Regions from separate parts of the Homo sapiens genome. Here region 2 is linked to region 1. Evidence: promoter capture Hi-C in 16 types of primary human blood cells and fetal thymus (Javierre and others, 2016). All regions are on one chromosome and are shown on one strand. The core of a region is centred on a gene start or on the middle of the fragment in contact, and the rest is flanking DNA. Distances in the headings are between cores, read along the strand shown.

The links. Contacts are between HindIII fragments. The CHiCAGO score rates a contact against its expected background, and 5 or more counts as called.
Region 2: a contact is called between the fragment with the promoter of KSR1 here and the fragment with the promoter of NOS2 in region 1, in 1 of 17 cell types (monocytes). The highest score is 5.3, in monocytes.

Annotation. Positions count from the first base shown.
Region 1 is chr17:27,796,560-27,804,327 of GRCh38, forward strand. NOS2 (nitric oxide synthase 2) reads right to left here and starts at 3,970. Exons shown (of 27, transcript NM_000625.4): 1 at 3,780-3,970; 2 at 2,141-2,323. The coding sequence starts at 2,250. RefSeq lists promoters at 3,803-7,768, 3,883-5,000, 3,883-4,175, 3,934-7,768, an enhancer at 4,144-4,172 and cis regulatory regions at 4,485-4,507, 6,534-6,669, 7,328-7,467. The HindIII fragment of the contact is 2,695 bases long and covers 1,902-4,596 here.
Region 2 is chr17:27,452,029-27,459,796 of GRCh38, forward strand. It overlaps KSR1 (kinase suppressor of ras 1), which reads left to right and starts at 4,420. Exons shown (of 21, transcript NM_001394583.1): 1 at 4,420-4,846. The coding sequence starts at 4,616. RefSeq lists silencers at 3,950-4,709, 5,230-5,279 and an enhancer at 4,085-4,586. The HindIII fragment of the contact is 16,082 bases long and covers 1-7,768 here.

The DNA of each region.
Region 1 (7,768 bases), core at 2,720-5,219:
TGAGGAAGGCTGGGATGGGCAGGTGGGATGGGCTCTCCATTTGGGTAGGGTGCTCGCTCAGAACTCTGTGGAAGCTTTAATGTGGTGACAGGCAATGGGGAGCCACTGCAGGCTCTAGAATAGGGGCGTGACTTGCTAGAAGTCCAGTTGGCAAGAGAGAGCTCAGAGCCAGTGTGGGGAGCTGGAGTCAGGGAGGTCAGCTGGCAGCGGCTGCAATGATGAGATGAAGAGAAGGAAGGGGCGAAGCCACTGCCCCTCTACAGCCCTTAGAATCTGGACATCTAGAGGCCATCAACTCTGTGTTCTCACCTCTTGGTCTCTTAGCCACCTCAGTTGCCATAGCCCAGACTGCCTGGTTTCAAAGTCCTCTCCTCCAATTCACCTACCACACCACAGCTAGACTGTCCTGCTCAAGAACCTACAATGGCTCCCTACTGCCAGGGAGAGCGAGTCCAAATCTCCTACCCTGCATTCAAGCCCTTGTGCTCTGGCCTGGCTTTGCCTATCCCAGCCCCCAGCCCACTCCTGGCCAAGCACAGTCAGGCTCATTTCTGCCTCTGAGCCTCTGCTCACCTCTCCCCTCTTCCTGAATGTCCTTGCTACTCCTCTGCACCTGTCTACATTCTACCCATACTTCAAAGGCCACAGAGTCCACCTGACTTCTGTGAAGCCCCTAGAGGGAACTCTGTTCAATTTTGCTCCATCACCTCCTAACTGCCAACACCACCGCTAATGATAGCAATGCCAACAGTGCCATTTGCTGAGCACTTACTCCAGGCCAGGCCCTGTGCTAAGTTGCTCACATGGGAAAGCTCATTTACTCCTTCCTCCAACTCCAGGAAATCACCATTGTTACCCTCTTCTTATAGAGGAGGAAATTGAGGCTCAGAGGCTAGGGGACTTGCCAAAGGTTACAGGGCTACTGAGTGGCAAAGCCACTTGCTCATCCCCAAGCCCATCCTCTTAGCCACTGGCATTTTTTGCCGCCTCTGACAGATACACTCAGGGCCGTCATGCTGTACACATCCAGGGGGCGCCCTACCCTTTGTAGTCCATGGGAAAGGCTCCTCTGGGGCGGTGGGGTTGTGTGGCTATGTGGTGGTCTTGTGTAGATGGGGGCTTTGGTTTCAGTTGCACTATTGCGTTATTGCAGATTGCTTTGTCTTTCCACCTGAGCGAGCCTCAAGCCTGTCCCTTGACTTGTTCATTAACTGACTCATTCTCTTGGTTCTGCCCTGGGAGGAAGGATGGGCCCGGGGAGGAGGGACATGAAGAATCCAAATCTGGGCTCAAGTTCCAACTCTGTAAACTCTGTAATTACCGGTCATTCAGGCTGGGGGAAGTCATAATCCTATTAGAGCTTCTATTTCCTTATCTGTGAAATGAGTCAATCATATGAACTTCAAAGAGCCGCCACAGAGATCAGTTGAGATGCAAAGTCTGTCAAGTGGCCTGTGTAGCTCTGGCAAGGGCAGGTACTCAGTAGATGGTGATGAACCCTGATGTGGACTAAGTGTCTGTTCTGTGTGGGCACAGTGCTGAGTGCTGTAGATCTCATTTCATCCTCAGCACACTATGGTGAGGGCCCCCTTGGGTTCCTCATACCACAGGTGAGCACTAAGTTTCAGAGAGGTTAACTTACCCTGCGTCACACAGCTGGCTAGAGGCAGCACCCGGCAACTAGTGCGGCCAGCACAGGGCTTGGAACTAGTTTGTCTAACATCCTGATGCCCTTCACCAGGATGATATTCAAAGCATCTAGCAAGCGGTGAATTGGAATGGACGCAGGCCAGGATGCTGACCCTCCACCCCCACCCCTCCGCCATGGTGCCCACCACGAGGCTCTACTGCCTCCCATTCTCAGGCCAAGCTCCTTCCCATATTCTTCCCCAAAGATTCCAAGCTTCTTCAGGGCCAGCCCCGCACCATGTCCCTTCCTTCTTCACATACCGTCAGGCACAGCGAGGTGCCCAATAATCAGCGGCTGCATTGAATTCCAACAGGGACTTTCAAGAAGCAATGAGGAGATCAGACCTCAGGTGAGAGAGGAGGAGCAGAGAGAGGAATTCTGAGTCATCGGTGCCGACAGGGCATGGGTGCCCAAGGAGACAAGCAGGAGGTTCCCCCAGGGAAAACTCACCTGGAGGTGGCACAGGGGGCTTTCTCCACATTGTTGTTGATGTCTTTTTCCCCATTCATTGCATACTGGTGGAATTTGGTCTTGAACAGAAATTTCCAAGGACAGGCCATCTCTATGGCTTTACAAAGCAGGTCACTTATGTCACTTATCTGGATTTGAGCTCAGATGTTCTTCACTGTGGGGCTGAAGAAGGGAAGCAGAGGTGAGGGAAGGTTGAAGAAGAGTTTACAGAACAGGGCTTCTCAGTGGGGTTGGCTCACTGGGGAATCGATATGAACGCCAGCATGAGCCCCTTCATCAATGCTTTGCAACCTCTGTCTCTATTTCGGGGTTGGAATGGGGAGCCTTCGGACACAGACTTCAATTCTGTAAAGCCACCTAATAATCTTAAGGAAAAACAATGAACCCCCCCATCCCCATCGCCACTTAACAAGGACAAACTGTATGCACCATGAGCCTCCTTAGCGGGACCTGCTGGCCCACCAGACCCAGCCAGGCTTCATCACTGGCCACAGGCAGGGTGAGGAAGAGCCCGGAGGTCGTTGAAACAGGGGTGCCTTTGCCTGACCCTGAAAGACACTTCCCAGCAGCTCTCATTATCAACTGTAGTTTTAGGTCTATTACTGGGGAAAGCACTCAAGCTGTAGCTACCTTTCTTTTAAAGATTTTGCAGTTGTTGTTCTAACTCAGCATTATTACTTGCTCCTCTTTTATTATGTGGGGAGGAAATATTTGTGAAAAATGCACTCATCCCTCGAAATCTGAGATCATCTCCTTTGAAACAGACAAGAGGAAGATCAAAGAGGCAAAAACTCTGTCTTTAGAAGACAGTGTAGTGAATATAGTCCATGTAAGAATTTTAGGCCAAGTGCAGTGGCTCACGCCTGTAATCCCAGCATTTCGGGAGACCGAGGCAGGAGGATCGCTTGAGTCCAAGAGTTCGAGTTCAGCCTGGGCAACATAGGGAGACCTTGACTACAAAAAATTGAAAAATTAGCCAGGCAGGCATGGTGTCTTGTGCCTGTAGTCCCAGCTACTCGGGAGGCTGAGGCAGAAGGATTGCTTGAGGCTGGGCAGTCAAGGCTGTTTCCAAAAAAAAAAAAGAAAGAAAGGGAAGGGAAGGGAGGGGAAGGGAGGAAAGGACAGGAAGGAAAGGAAGGAAAGAGGGAAAGAAAGAAAAGAACTTATAGCCCCATAGACCTGGGTTCAAATCCTGGAATCCTAGCTCTACCAGTTATGTGTCCTGGATCAAGTTATTTAACTGAAACTCATTTATTCATCCATAAAATGGGTTTAATATATCCATCTTACCAGGATTTGTGGGGAGGTTACATGTTATAAGGACTGATAAGATAATCTCTGTTAAAAAAAATTCTTAGCAGATACAAACTCCCATTTTGAACTTTTCAGAAAGTTTTTCCTTGTCATGTAACAACCACAGCTAATATTTGCAGAAAAGAAATCTGACCAAGATGCCATGTTCAAATGACCAAACCTCATGTCGGCATTTTTTTACCTAGACTTTCCAACACCTTCTCTCTGTAGGCAGAAAATTCCCACAATTTTCTGAGCCTTCTCAAAGAGGAAGAAACAAAACCCTCTCAAAACAGCCGCTTCCCCAGAAATGAAGGCAACTCACCTTGCAGCTGGCTGCACTGCCTCCCCGGGGTAAGGACAGTCAAACCAGGAAGAGACCTGTGCCTTGAGAACTTCGGGACTGTCTAGAACTGCCCAGTCCCCTCATCAAAGGTGGCCGAGAGATTTTAAAGCAGGAATGAGGCTGAGTTCTCTGCGGCCGGAGCCTCAGTTTTCGACTCGCTACAAAGTTATGAACACACTGGCAGCCAAGAAGTATTTATACTCACCCCATGCCATCCAGAGAGTTGTTTTTGCATAAAGGTCTCTTTTTTTTTTTTTTTTTTTTGGTTTCCAAAGGGAGTGTCCCCAGCTTGTGTACAGTTAGCTAATTTATGACTGTGACTGCCAGGGCCTGTGGGTGACCTGATCTTGCTGTTACATCACTCTGTGTGGTGCCTCTTCACCCAACCCACCTCTTTCTGGTCCCAAGTCCAAGGTGGCAGTTCATCAGCAGGGTGGCTGCTAAGATAGAGGCACCACGGAGCCAGGTTTTATTTGGCCAAGCCACATGGCCTCACTTTCAGCATCTGGGAGATTTTTTCCTCAGCAGGGAGCTCTCTGGTTAATCCCTGTCCATCCTCTCACTTTTCCAGCTTGTGACAGGAGTCCAGGAAGCTGGGGGAATATTGACAGTATGGAACACACTGGAAAATGCCCAGGTTCCAGAAGGCCAGTGATATTAGATGATGCCATTATTCCAGACAGGCCTCTGAACTAGTCACTTGAGGTTTTTGGAAGGGAAAGGAAGGAAGGCTATTGGCACAGAGAGGCCTCTGAGATGTTGGTCTTACTAACACCTCATCCTTTAGCACTAGGTAAGCTTTGGTGGAATGGCAGGTAGGATTAAATTCCTTCCCTTATAATGGAAATGATCACTTCTTACATGAAAAAGTGGTAATTTCTTATAATTTCATTTCATTTATTTTATTTATTTATTTATTTTTGAGATGGAGTCTCATTCTGTCACCAAGACTGGAGCGGAGTGGCACGATCTCTGCTCATTGCAACTTCTGCCTCCCAGGCTCAAGCGATCCTCCCACCTCAGCCTCCTGAGTAGCTGGGACTACAGGCATGCACCACCACACCCAGCTAATATTTTTGTGTTTTTGGTAGAGACTGGGTTTCACCATGTTGTCCATGCTGGTCTCGAACTCTGAAGCTCAAGTGATCTGCCCACTTCAGCCTCTCAAAGTGCTAGGATTACAAGGGTTAGCCACCATGCCCGGCCTATAATTTCATTCCTTATAATGCCTGAAATACAGTATTCCCATACATATGCATTTTTCCATCATAAAAGTAAAATAACAACTACATTAGGGAGAAGTTGAGAAGCAAAGGGAAAAAAAGTCACCCTTGATCTCACCGTCCCAACACTTTGCTACCACTGTCCACTCATTTCCTTCTTGTCTTTCCCAAGTTAAATTCAGCATAATATATTAACTTTGTCAAAGATAAACTAAGAGCCACAAAAAAGACATGGATATCAGAGCTCAAGGATCTTTGTTGAGTGAATGTGTGGATGAATGAATGAAAAATAGGAGTAAACTGGAATGAGTTTTAACATATCAAAGCCATCTTCCCTTCAGGCTTCAGCTCAATGCTGCGGCTCAATGCTGCGGCTTAGAGCTCTGGCTTATGGAGCATCTGCCACGAAGAGCAATGCATTTTAGAAAGTGACAAGATGGCCGGGCGTGGTGGTTCATGCCGGTTCAGTTCAGGTAAACAGCACTCAGGGAAAGAGTCAGAATCCTGGCCTTAGGGAGTGCAAGGCCTAGAAAAATAAATGGATAATTATAGTACAGAGTGATATCTGTAGTGATGGAGGGATGGTATGGTGCTGATGTAGCTGGTTCTGCCTTGTTCAAGGAAAGTTTACAAGGGAGAGGACACCAGGGCAGGGTTTTGAGGGATGATTAGGAGTTTGCTACACTCTATTCCCTGTAGCTGCTTTCACATATTCTGGCTATACCTGCAGCAAACACATGTATTAACACATTTAATGCCCCCACCCAAGAGCCTCTGAGGGGGATACTACTATTTGCTATTCATGGAATCCTCAAGAATCCCATCTACTTGGCCTCAAAGCACTTCGTTGATTTTCCTTCAGAAAATGCAGTTATTCAGTTATGTGATCTGTCAAACATGTCACCTCAGGTGCCCCTCTAACACAGCGTCTGCTTGGTGTGGCATTCTTGACCTGTGGCAGGGTTTGAGTCCAAGCACCAGGCTTGAGGACACATTTGGAATTAGCCAGCTGGGAAGGAAATATAATTTCTCCTCAATCATCTTAAGTTATTTGTTGGGAAAGACACTGTAACAAAAGACAGATTAATAATAGAGAAAAAAAAGCAAGTTTGTTAATGTCTGTGATGCACACCACGCAGGAGAAGCCTCAGTGAAAGTAACTCAATGCTGCGGCTTAGAACTCTGGCTTATGGAGCATCTGCCATGAAGAGCAATGCATTTTAGAAAGTGACAAGATGGCTGGGCACGGTGGTTCATGCCTGGAATCCCAGCAATTTGGGAGGCTGAGGTGGGCAGATTGCTTGAGGCCAGGAGTTCGAGACCAGCCTGGGCAACATAGTGAGATCCAATCTCTACAGAAAAATTGAAAATAAATTAGCTGGGTATGGTGGCATGCCCAGCTACTGTAGTCCTAGCTACTCAGGAGGATCAGGTGGGAGGATCAATTGAGTCTGGGAGTTAGAGGCTGCAGAGAGCTATGGTCGCGCCACTGCACCCTAGCCTGTCTCAGAAAAAAAAGGAAAAAAAAGAGGGAAAGGAGGAAAGGAAAGGAAAGGAAAGGAAAGGAAAGGAAAGGAAAGGAAAGGAAAGGAAAGGAAAGGAAAAGAAAGGAAAGGAAAGAGAGAAAGAAAGAAAGAAGAGAAAGGTGACAAGACGAATGCAGTTGTAGGCTTCCAGGGGTGGCAAGCTGTGAGAAGGTAAACATGTGGAAGTGAGCTAAGGAGTAGGATAGCAAGGTTTGTTTGTATTTGTAGATGGCTCTGGTGCCATCTCTGAGCTGATAAAAGTTATCTTCTCATCTTGATGCTGGGAAAGCATCTTTCTCCAAGGAATGTTTATGGCTTGCTGCAGGCAGGACAGGGCAGTTCAGATAGCCCTCTCTCTAGCTGCTCTTTCTCAAATGCCTTCAGCTGGAGATAATCAGGATGCCATATCGGCATATCTGGGCGTGGCATGTTCTGGTTTCCTTTAGCCTGAAAGGTCCCAGGTTCGAGGCACAGCTTCACTGCTGACCTACCATGTGATCTTGGAAAAGCCACTTCTCTCTGGGCCTGACTTTTCTCGTGACAAAAGGTGATAAAAATAAAAGTAAATAAACGAGATACAAGAAAATGCTTTGAGCCATTGAGCAAAAAGTCAGCCAAGTAAGAATTTATTATCCTTGCTGGGAGTCAGAGAGTAACAATTTCCCTTTTGACAAAGAGCAAGTGGATGCCAGGACTTGCCTTCTGAAGTATCCTTCCTCAGACAGGTCCCCGTCCCACCACAAACACCTGCTTTTAAATTCCCGGTCCTCTCTCTCCCTTTGTAACATTAAATTCATGTATGTATTTTTAATTTTTAATTGGAATAAATTTCACATAACATAAAATTACCAATTAACTATTTTAAAGTGTAAAATGCAATGGTTTTTAGAATATTCACAATGTTGTATAACCATGACCACTATCCCAATCCTCTCTTAACCGGCAAATAGGAAGAGGAGGAGAGTAAAAATAGTGATAATGATTGTGATGATACACAGAGGTTAGGAGACTCACCAAGGTCACACAGCAAACAGCCTTCAAGCCGGGACAAACAGTGAGCTTCTGGTACCCTCCCCAGAGCGCCTGTCTGCAGGGTCCAGGGCTGGCCCCCTCCTGGAGGTTGGCAAGTCTCCTACGGCTTCCTGGGCCTGCACGGCTGCCTTCTTCTTGGCCCTGCCCACCCAGCAGGCCGCATTCCTGGCCTCTTCTGATGATGGAT
Region 2 (7,768 bases), core at 3,170-5,669, 340 kb before region 1:
CCCTCATCTTGCTATGGCTTCTCTGGCCTTCACTTTGTTCCTGGAGTATGCCAAGCTGCTCCTACCTCAGGGCCTTTGCACATGATGTTCCCACTGCCTGGAGTGCTCCTTTCCTGGAACATTCCACATGGCTTGCTTTTCCTTATTTACATCTTAGTTCAATGGTCAGATAATAATTCTCTGTCCACTTCACCTAGTGAAGTACCTTAGCCACCAGAGACTCTCGGCTATTTGCTTTCTTCTTCTTCTGCGTAGCACTTATGATTCTCAGTTTATTTTGGTAATATATTTGTTGACATTCATTTCCTGTCCTTCCCTTCATGTATGTTCCACAGGGATAAGGACTCGGCTTCCTTCGCTTTGAGCCTACCCCAGAGCCTGGCGCATGCTAAGTGTCCTCTTCATGTTTCTTGGGCCTGTGCATGAAAATGCTCCCACCGCTGCTGTTGGTGTTTGGATGCAGACAAGCTCGGAAAAGCAATGAAGGGACCCGAGACAGAGGAGAGGAAGGAGAGAGTAAGCAAACTTTCTCTACTGAGGTGCCTCAGAAAAAGCCTCAAGAACCTGGAGATGATGCTGAAACCCTGAATCAACACATAATAGATCAATTCATCTAACTAGAAGAGATTCATTCTGGAAGGTGAGGAAGAAAGTAATGCATAGTTCAATGAGTTAAGCATTTGGAACAGTTTCAGTAGACATACAGTAAATATTTATCAAATAAATAAATATGCCGAACCCTTATTTTATGACCATTACTTTGTGTTATATAATCTGTTCATCCTCATAAAACATTATCACCATCTTGCAAATAAGAAGCTGTGCTACCAGATTAGGAGATTTGCCCGAGGTCATATAAGACTCGTCAAAGGTCATACAGCGATTCAGAGACAGAGCTGACTACCCTACTCTCTAAAACAGCTCTATTCGAAGTTGTAAAGGCCATATTCCCTGTCCCCTTCCCTGCAGTGCCATACCACCTGTTACCACTGACACACTGTGCATTTATCTGCTTGTCTGTTTCCTCTCACCACAGCATAAATTCCCTAAGGGTAAGAATCTTCATTTTGTTCACTACCCTTTTCCAGAGCCCAGAACAGGGCCTGCCATGTAAGTGGCACTTCATGAATGCTTACTGAATGTTAAAAGGATGAATGAAGGGATTATTTAAAAATCCTTATTTCGGCCAGGTGCCATGGCTCATGCCTGTAATCCTAGCACTTTTGGGAGAGTGAGGCCAAGAACAGGAGTTTGAGACCAGTCTACATGACACAGCAAGACCCTGTCCCTACAAAAAATTTAAAAATTAGTCAGATGCGGTGGCAGGCACCTGTAGTCCCAGCTACTCAGGAGGCTGAGGCAGGAGGATGGCTTGAGCCCAGGACTTTTGAGGCTGCAGTGAGCTTTCTCGCACCACTGCACTCCAACCTGGGCAACAGAGCAAATCCCTGTCTCTTAAAAACAAAAAACAAAAACAAAAAAGTTTCTCCACCTCTGAGGGGCAGTTCTGTAAACTTGTGGCTGACAGATGACTCAAATCCAGGCAAGAAGGCTGGAGGCCATCTGTGAGGAAGGAAAACTGTGGCCTGCTGAATGCTCTGGATAATCAGAGGGAAGACTGTATCCACAGAGGACAGACTCGCTGCATGGAACCTGGCGGGAGAGTAACCAGGGAGCTGGCATTTGTCCAGTCTCAGGCTCTGACATCACCCCTGTGGTGACATGGGTGGGCATGAATGCCACAAGCTGGCAGTGGCTCTTCTCAGGATGTGGCTTCCCACATAAAGTGGCCCTAGAGGGAGAATGTGATGACCAGGTCCCTGTGGCAATAACAAGTTTGATGTAAGTGCATAAATAGGCACTTACCAGAACATTTCTTGTGAGCCAGGCATGGTAGTTCACGCCTATAATCCCAGCACTTCAGGAGGCTGAAGGGGAAGGATTGCTTGAGCCCGAGAGTTTGAGACCAGCAGCCTGGGCAACGTAGAGAGACTCCATTTCTAAAAAAAAGGAAAAAAAAAAAAAAGTTAACGTTAGCCGGGCATGGTGGCACACTCCTATAGTCCCAGCTACTTGGGAAGCTGGGGTGGGAGGATCGCCTGAGTCTGGGAGGTCGAGGCTGCACTGAGCCATGATCATGCTACTGTACTCCAGCCTGAGTGACAGAGCAAGACCCTGTTTCAAAAAAAAAAAAATCTTTTGTGAATTGTGTTAGAATGAGTGAGTCGTTCAAGCCTGGCAGCTCTGGCTGCTGGACAGAGGCTCTGAACCAGCCAGGTTGGGTTGTGGATAGTCCCTTGAGATAGTTCTCTGCCCACTGACCTTCCTCTGTGCCTAGGCTTCTCAAAGTATAGACTTGCGACTGGGCTCAGACTAACCACATCAGTACCACCTGAGAACCTGATAGAAATGCAGATTCTCCTGCCCTGTCCTCTGATCTACAAAATTAGAAACTATAGAGGTGAGCTCCATGGTTCTGGGAATTAACAAGCCCTCCAAGTGATTCTGATGCATGTTCAAGTTTGAGAACCACAACTAGTTTCCCTTTCATAATAGTTACTACTTTGCAAGGAGTCGGATGGGGTTAAGGTAACAGGTTGAGAAATTCATAATATCGTGCAGGCGGTCTTTTTATAAGTTGAGTGAGGACTGGATCAATGACTCTCAATGGGAAAGGCCAGGGGTTAGGGAGGAACCTCCTTGCATTTGGAAAATCTCGAGGAGGGGTTAATTTGCAAAAACAAGTTTTAAAGTTATAGTTTTGCTTCCTAGACCTGATTTTTAAAAATTTATTATTTTTTTTAGAGACAGGGTCTTGTCACATTGCCCAGGCTGGTCTCGAACTCCTGGCTTTAAGTGATCCTTCCCCCTTGGCCTCTCAAAAGTGCTGGCATTACAGGCATGAGCCACGGTGCCCAGCCCTTAATTTATTTCGAAGGCTGGTGTAATATAAACATTAAAGGAAGGTGTAATACAAACTGCCATCCATTATTGATTGTTTTAGTGTCTACAAGGTTTGGATCCCACCTCCTGTCCAATTCTCATCCTCAAACACAAAAACAAAACCAAAAAAACAACTGTCTATCTACACACACACACACACCCTCGGCTGGCCTGAGAGGTAAAAGAAACATCCCATAGGACCTGCTGAAAGAGCTCCTGAGGCACGCTGGAGCCTTTCTTGTGTGCCATGCACTGTATCTGGCACTATAAAGAGGGTACAATAGCTAGTGGCTTCTGCAATCAAGCAGCTTACAAGAGAAAATTGAGAGGGGAGACATTTTTTCTGGTTGACAGATGTCGAAAGCATGAAGGTGTGGGAGCTTTGATCAGAGACTTGGTTTTTCAGTTTTGCCAGATAATAGAACGCATGGGGTGAACTAATGGGAGAGGAGGGTGAACAGATGGGCAAGGCTTGATTGCTGGGTTAGGAGGCACAGAAATGCACAGAGGACAAAGGACTACCAGTCCTTGGCAGTACTGTACTGCTCCATGGCCACTACCTGGGTCCAGGGCCACATTCAGATCTGAGGTTAGATAGTAAGAATTGCTAACATTTATCCAGCGACCACATGTGCCAGTAATCAATCTAGGTGCTGTACATGTATTAACTGATTCTTCATAGGAACCCTATTAAAGAGTTATTTGATGAGGAGAGTCGGGCATTCACTGGAAATCGAACGTGCCCAAAGTCTCACCCTAGACCGTGGTGGAGTCAGAATTTGAATCCTGGCCACTTGCTCCGAAGCCACCGACAATTCAGTGTGCTGTCCCCCGTGTCTGGGCTGGCTTGGTGGGCTGGGAATGGCGGGGGAATGGGACACTTATTTTGGCAGGTAAATGTGGTTCAGAAGAAAGCTCTTCGTCTTTCTCCAAGCCTGAGCAATCGTTTTGGCGCAGGCAGTCCAGAGTAGAGCGCTTTGTGAGCCAGCTACAGAAGTGCTGTAAGCCCCTTCCCACTAGATGGCAGCCCCTAAACCCACATACAAATCCTGGAACCTCCCTGGTCCCCATCTTCCAGGGCTGGGCTGCAGCTGAGGAACTGCGGGACGCACACCCGCCGGGCGTCCAGGGGGCGCCGCCCCATCCGGGGGTCGCGGGAAGCTCCTAGGCCGGGTGGGGGACGGAGGCGGACGGGGAGACGCTGCTCCCCCGACTCTCGGCGCCTGGGGGAGGAGCTGGCGCGGAGCAGCTCCACCCGGGGCTCCCGGTTGGGGCCGGCCCTCACCGCCTGCCTCGCCGCGGCCGCCGGGAGGGGAGGGGAGAGGAGGGCAGGGAGGGCGGCGCGGGCGCGGTCCGGGGCCCCGAGGGCGGAGGCCGGCGGCAGGTGCGCGGCGTGGACTACAAGTCCCAGCATGCCCGGCCGCCCTGACCCAGCCCCCGCCGCCGCTTAAAGGCTCCGGGAGCCGCAGCCGTCGGGTCGCCGCGGCTTTCGCTTTGCTGCCGCGGCTGGGAGGGTGGAAGCGGCAGACTCAGCGGCCGGCTCTACCGGCGTCCCGGCTCGGGCAGCGCCGAGGGGCGCTCCTGGTCCAGCTCTCCTGGCTCGGGGGTTCCTTGCCGAGGCGCCCGCGCCCCGGGCTCCCAGCCTCGGCCGCCGCGGCCCCGATGCCGAGGCATGGATAGAGCAGCGCTGCGCGCGGCGGCGATGGGAGAGAAGAAGGAGGGCGGTGGCGGGGGGGATGCGGCGGCCGCGGAGGGAGGCGCAGGGGCCGCGGCCAGCCGGGCGCTGCAGCAGTGCGGGCAGCTCCAGAAGCTCATCGACATCTCCATCGGCAGCCTGCGCGGGCTGCGCACCAAGTGCGCTGTGTCCAACGACCTCACCCAGCAGGAGATACGGACCCTGGAGGTAAGTGGGTCGGGGACCAGGCTGGGCTCGAGGAGCGGGCCCGGACACCTCCCTCCGGGCCCCAGTACTCCTGGCCGAGTTGCATCCTTGAGCCCGCGTCGCCCCCCTTGGAGGCTTCCCCTCCCTCCTGCACTCGCTGATGCGGCAGCCGGAGGACCCGGGACCAGCCCTCATCTTGGGCAGGATTTGTGGGGCGGGTGCGTCGTGGGAACTGGGATGGAGGCTCGAGGGGCCCGTGCGGGGTGGGCTGCGCGCGGACATCCCCTTTCCCCCCTTCTCCGCCCCCACCCCATTTCCAGTTTGCGGGGCCGCAGGACTCGTTGTCCCACCGAGTCACAAGCTGGACTTTTCCCCGTGTGACTGAGCCGAGCACCCGTGGGCCAGGGTGACGGAGGAGGTTCCCCTGAAGCGTGATCGCAGGCCTGCCGTCCCCTGTTCCCCTCACGCCCCAGACGCCGTCCTGTCCCTTCCTTTCCTCTCCTCTCAGGTCTTGTCTGCCGCCTTTTCAAAAAGTGTTGCTGAAACTGCATTTTTGTTATTCAGGCGTTTGGTGCTTTCCTTTCACGTTGCCACGGAGGCTCGCTGCTTAAAATGTATTAATAATTACCCGCTGACTCCCCCTGCTTCCCCCCAAAGATTGGATTTAGGCTTAGGAAGGATTATGCTGGGAAGCAAGCCTTTGGTGGGAAGATGAAACTGTTTAAAGGGTTCTGATGGAGACAGTCTGGAGTGTAAAGAAGAAATAAGATATGCGGGCCTTCCTCTCTCAAATTATAGCTGGGGAAGTATCTGAAGGATTTGGAAAAACCAGCCCGAGGGTTGTTGGGGCACCCTGTCCATACACAAATGAGGGCAACTAGTGGATTCTGAATGTGATTTTGGCCAGGGACGGGGCGGTGAAACGTCAGACCAGTTAATAGCTGCCCCGTCTTGAAGAAGGAACCTCTCACCATCTTGCCCTGCCACATCTGGCCTCCTGCAGGTCTGGGGATGTTTTGTTTTATTAGATCCTCAATTTCTCCTCCCCCAAACCCTCCCCCCGCCCCTTATTGCTAATTGCCTCTGCCAGCTGTCATAAGGCCCTCTGTGATCGCGGTAATTATTACAAGACCAATCCTTCCTCCAGGCATGCCACAAAGCCGAATCCTTGTTTGATTCCAAATGCTCGGGGGTGACTCTCCCTCAGTTTTATTTTCTTAAAAGCTATAAAACCACAGGACATTGGAAGAATACAGTCAGTGCTGGGTATTATTATTTTTTATTACAGTTGGCTAAAGCTGTACTGACCAAGGCTTTGCTTAAAAAACAAACAAAACCCCCTACAACTGGCCTTTCTGCATGCATGCTGCAGTTTTCCAAGTATTGAGAGAAACTGATTTTTTGAACACAGCTGAGTGTGTTTGCTCAGCAAAGTTCAGTTTTTAAGCTGACAACAATAGGGGGCCTGTGAGGCTCAGTTCCGGGAGGAGGGGTCGCTGTCTGGCAGAGTGTGCGTGGTTGGACTTCGGTGTTGCTGGGCTTGGAGAATGCTCTCTGTGTTGGCCTCTGTGGGATTGTCCCCACGTTGCTCTGAAGTGCTCCTGGCTTCCAGAGTGTGTATATAGGAGAACCACTTGCTGTGCATTCTCTGGAATGGCCTTTTGTCCTACCCTAACTTCCGGAGTCCCTCATTTTGATGGCAGTGTGGCGTTCATGACACCCCAGAGCATCCAGCTATTTAAGTGTTGGAGCTGGTTTATTCAGTGGCTTCCCTCCTGAGTGTTTGTTTAGACGATCATCCCTGGCAGCAGAGAACCCATCCAAAGGCCCACAGGGGATCTGCAGCTCCCTGTTCTTCCCACCGTGATGTGGATTCGGGTTCACTCCACTTCCTGAAAAGGCAGGGCCTGGGTTGTTTTGGGGGATGGGAATTTAGACCCCTGGAGTGAGTTCCATGGGGCTGCCACCAGCTAGTTTAGATGAGTCACTTCATCCCGGAGGCCTCAGCCTCCTCACCTGCAAAACAAGGAGGCTGGAGTGGATCTCTGAGGGCTCTGGAAGCTCGAAATTCTCTAGGTTAGAGAAGGAGACTTGGTTGGGTGAAATCAAATGTTTGTGATTGTTTTTATACTACCCTGGTTTAAGAATAACCCTCTTTAAGAATGGTTCTAAAATCCAGATTTACTGAACCCATAACATAGGGGTTAAGTTTATTAGAAGAATCTTTGCCATAGGAGCAGCGTGGTGAATAGGAAGCCCCATGGCTTTCATACTGGGCCTGGGTTCTGTCTGTGTGACCTTAGGCAAGTCCCATGACTTCTGAATCTCAAGCTCTCCTGTCTGTAAAATAGGAACGAGACTGCTCACACCTGCAGCATTTTGTCTGTCAGTCCGTGCTGATACTACGAAAAGAGTCTGCCTGGCAGCTGCCCCTAGTGAGGGTCCAGTAGCATTTATGGCACAGGCCACCACTAGGGAAACTTAACCCCTACTGGACCCTTGCTAGGGAAACTTAACCCCCTACTTTATGGGTTCAGTAAATCTGGATTTTAGGGAAAGGTACTTCTGCAGCTGCCTCTCATTTCATACAGGTGGGTGACACAAGCCAGGAAACAATCTCAGCAAGCTGGGTGGGACCGTCCACCGCCAGCAGCATGTGTTGGGGCCAGGCAGGCAAGTGGCAGTGTCCACTCCAGCGTTCTTTCCTGTTCTGTGGGCTCCCCACACACCAGGCCGTGGCCCCAGAGACTGTGCTTGCAACACTGGATTCCTGGCTTTTGAAGAAGGATCTGACCTGGAGGGCTTGGCCTGTGCAACTGCATCGGACTTATCTAGAATCTGAGGAGCCCCAGCTCACTCTGGCCTTCATTAAATAAACACTCAGTGGGAGAAGCAGCACGTGAAATGTCCGTGGAGGTCCCTGACCAGGGATGGGCTGCTGCT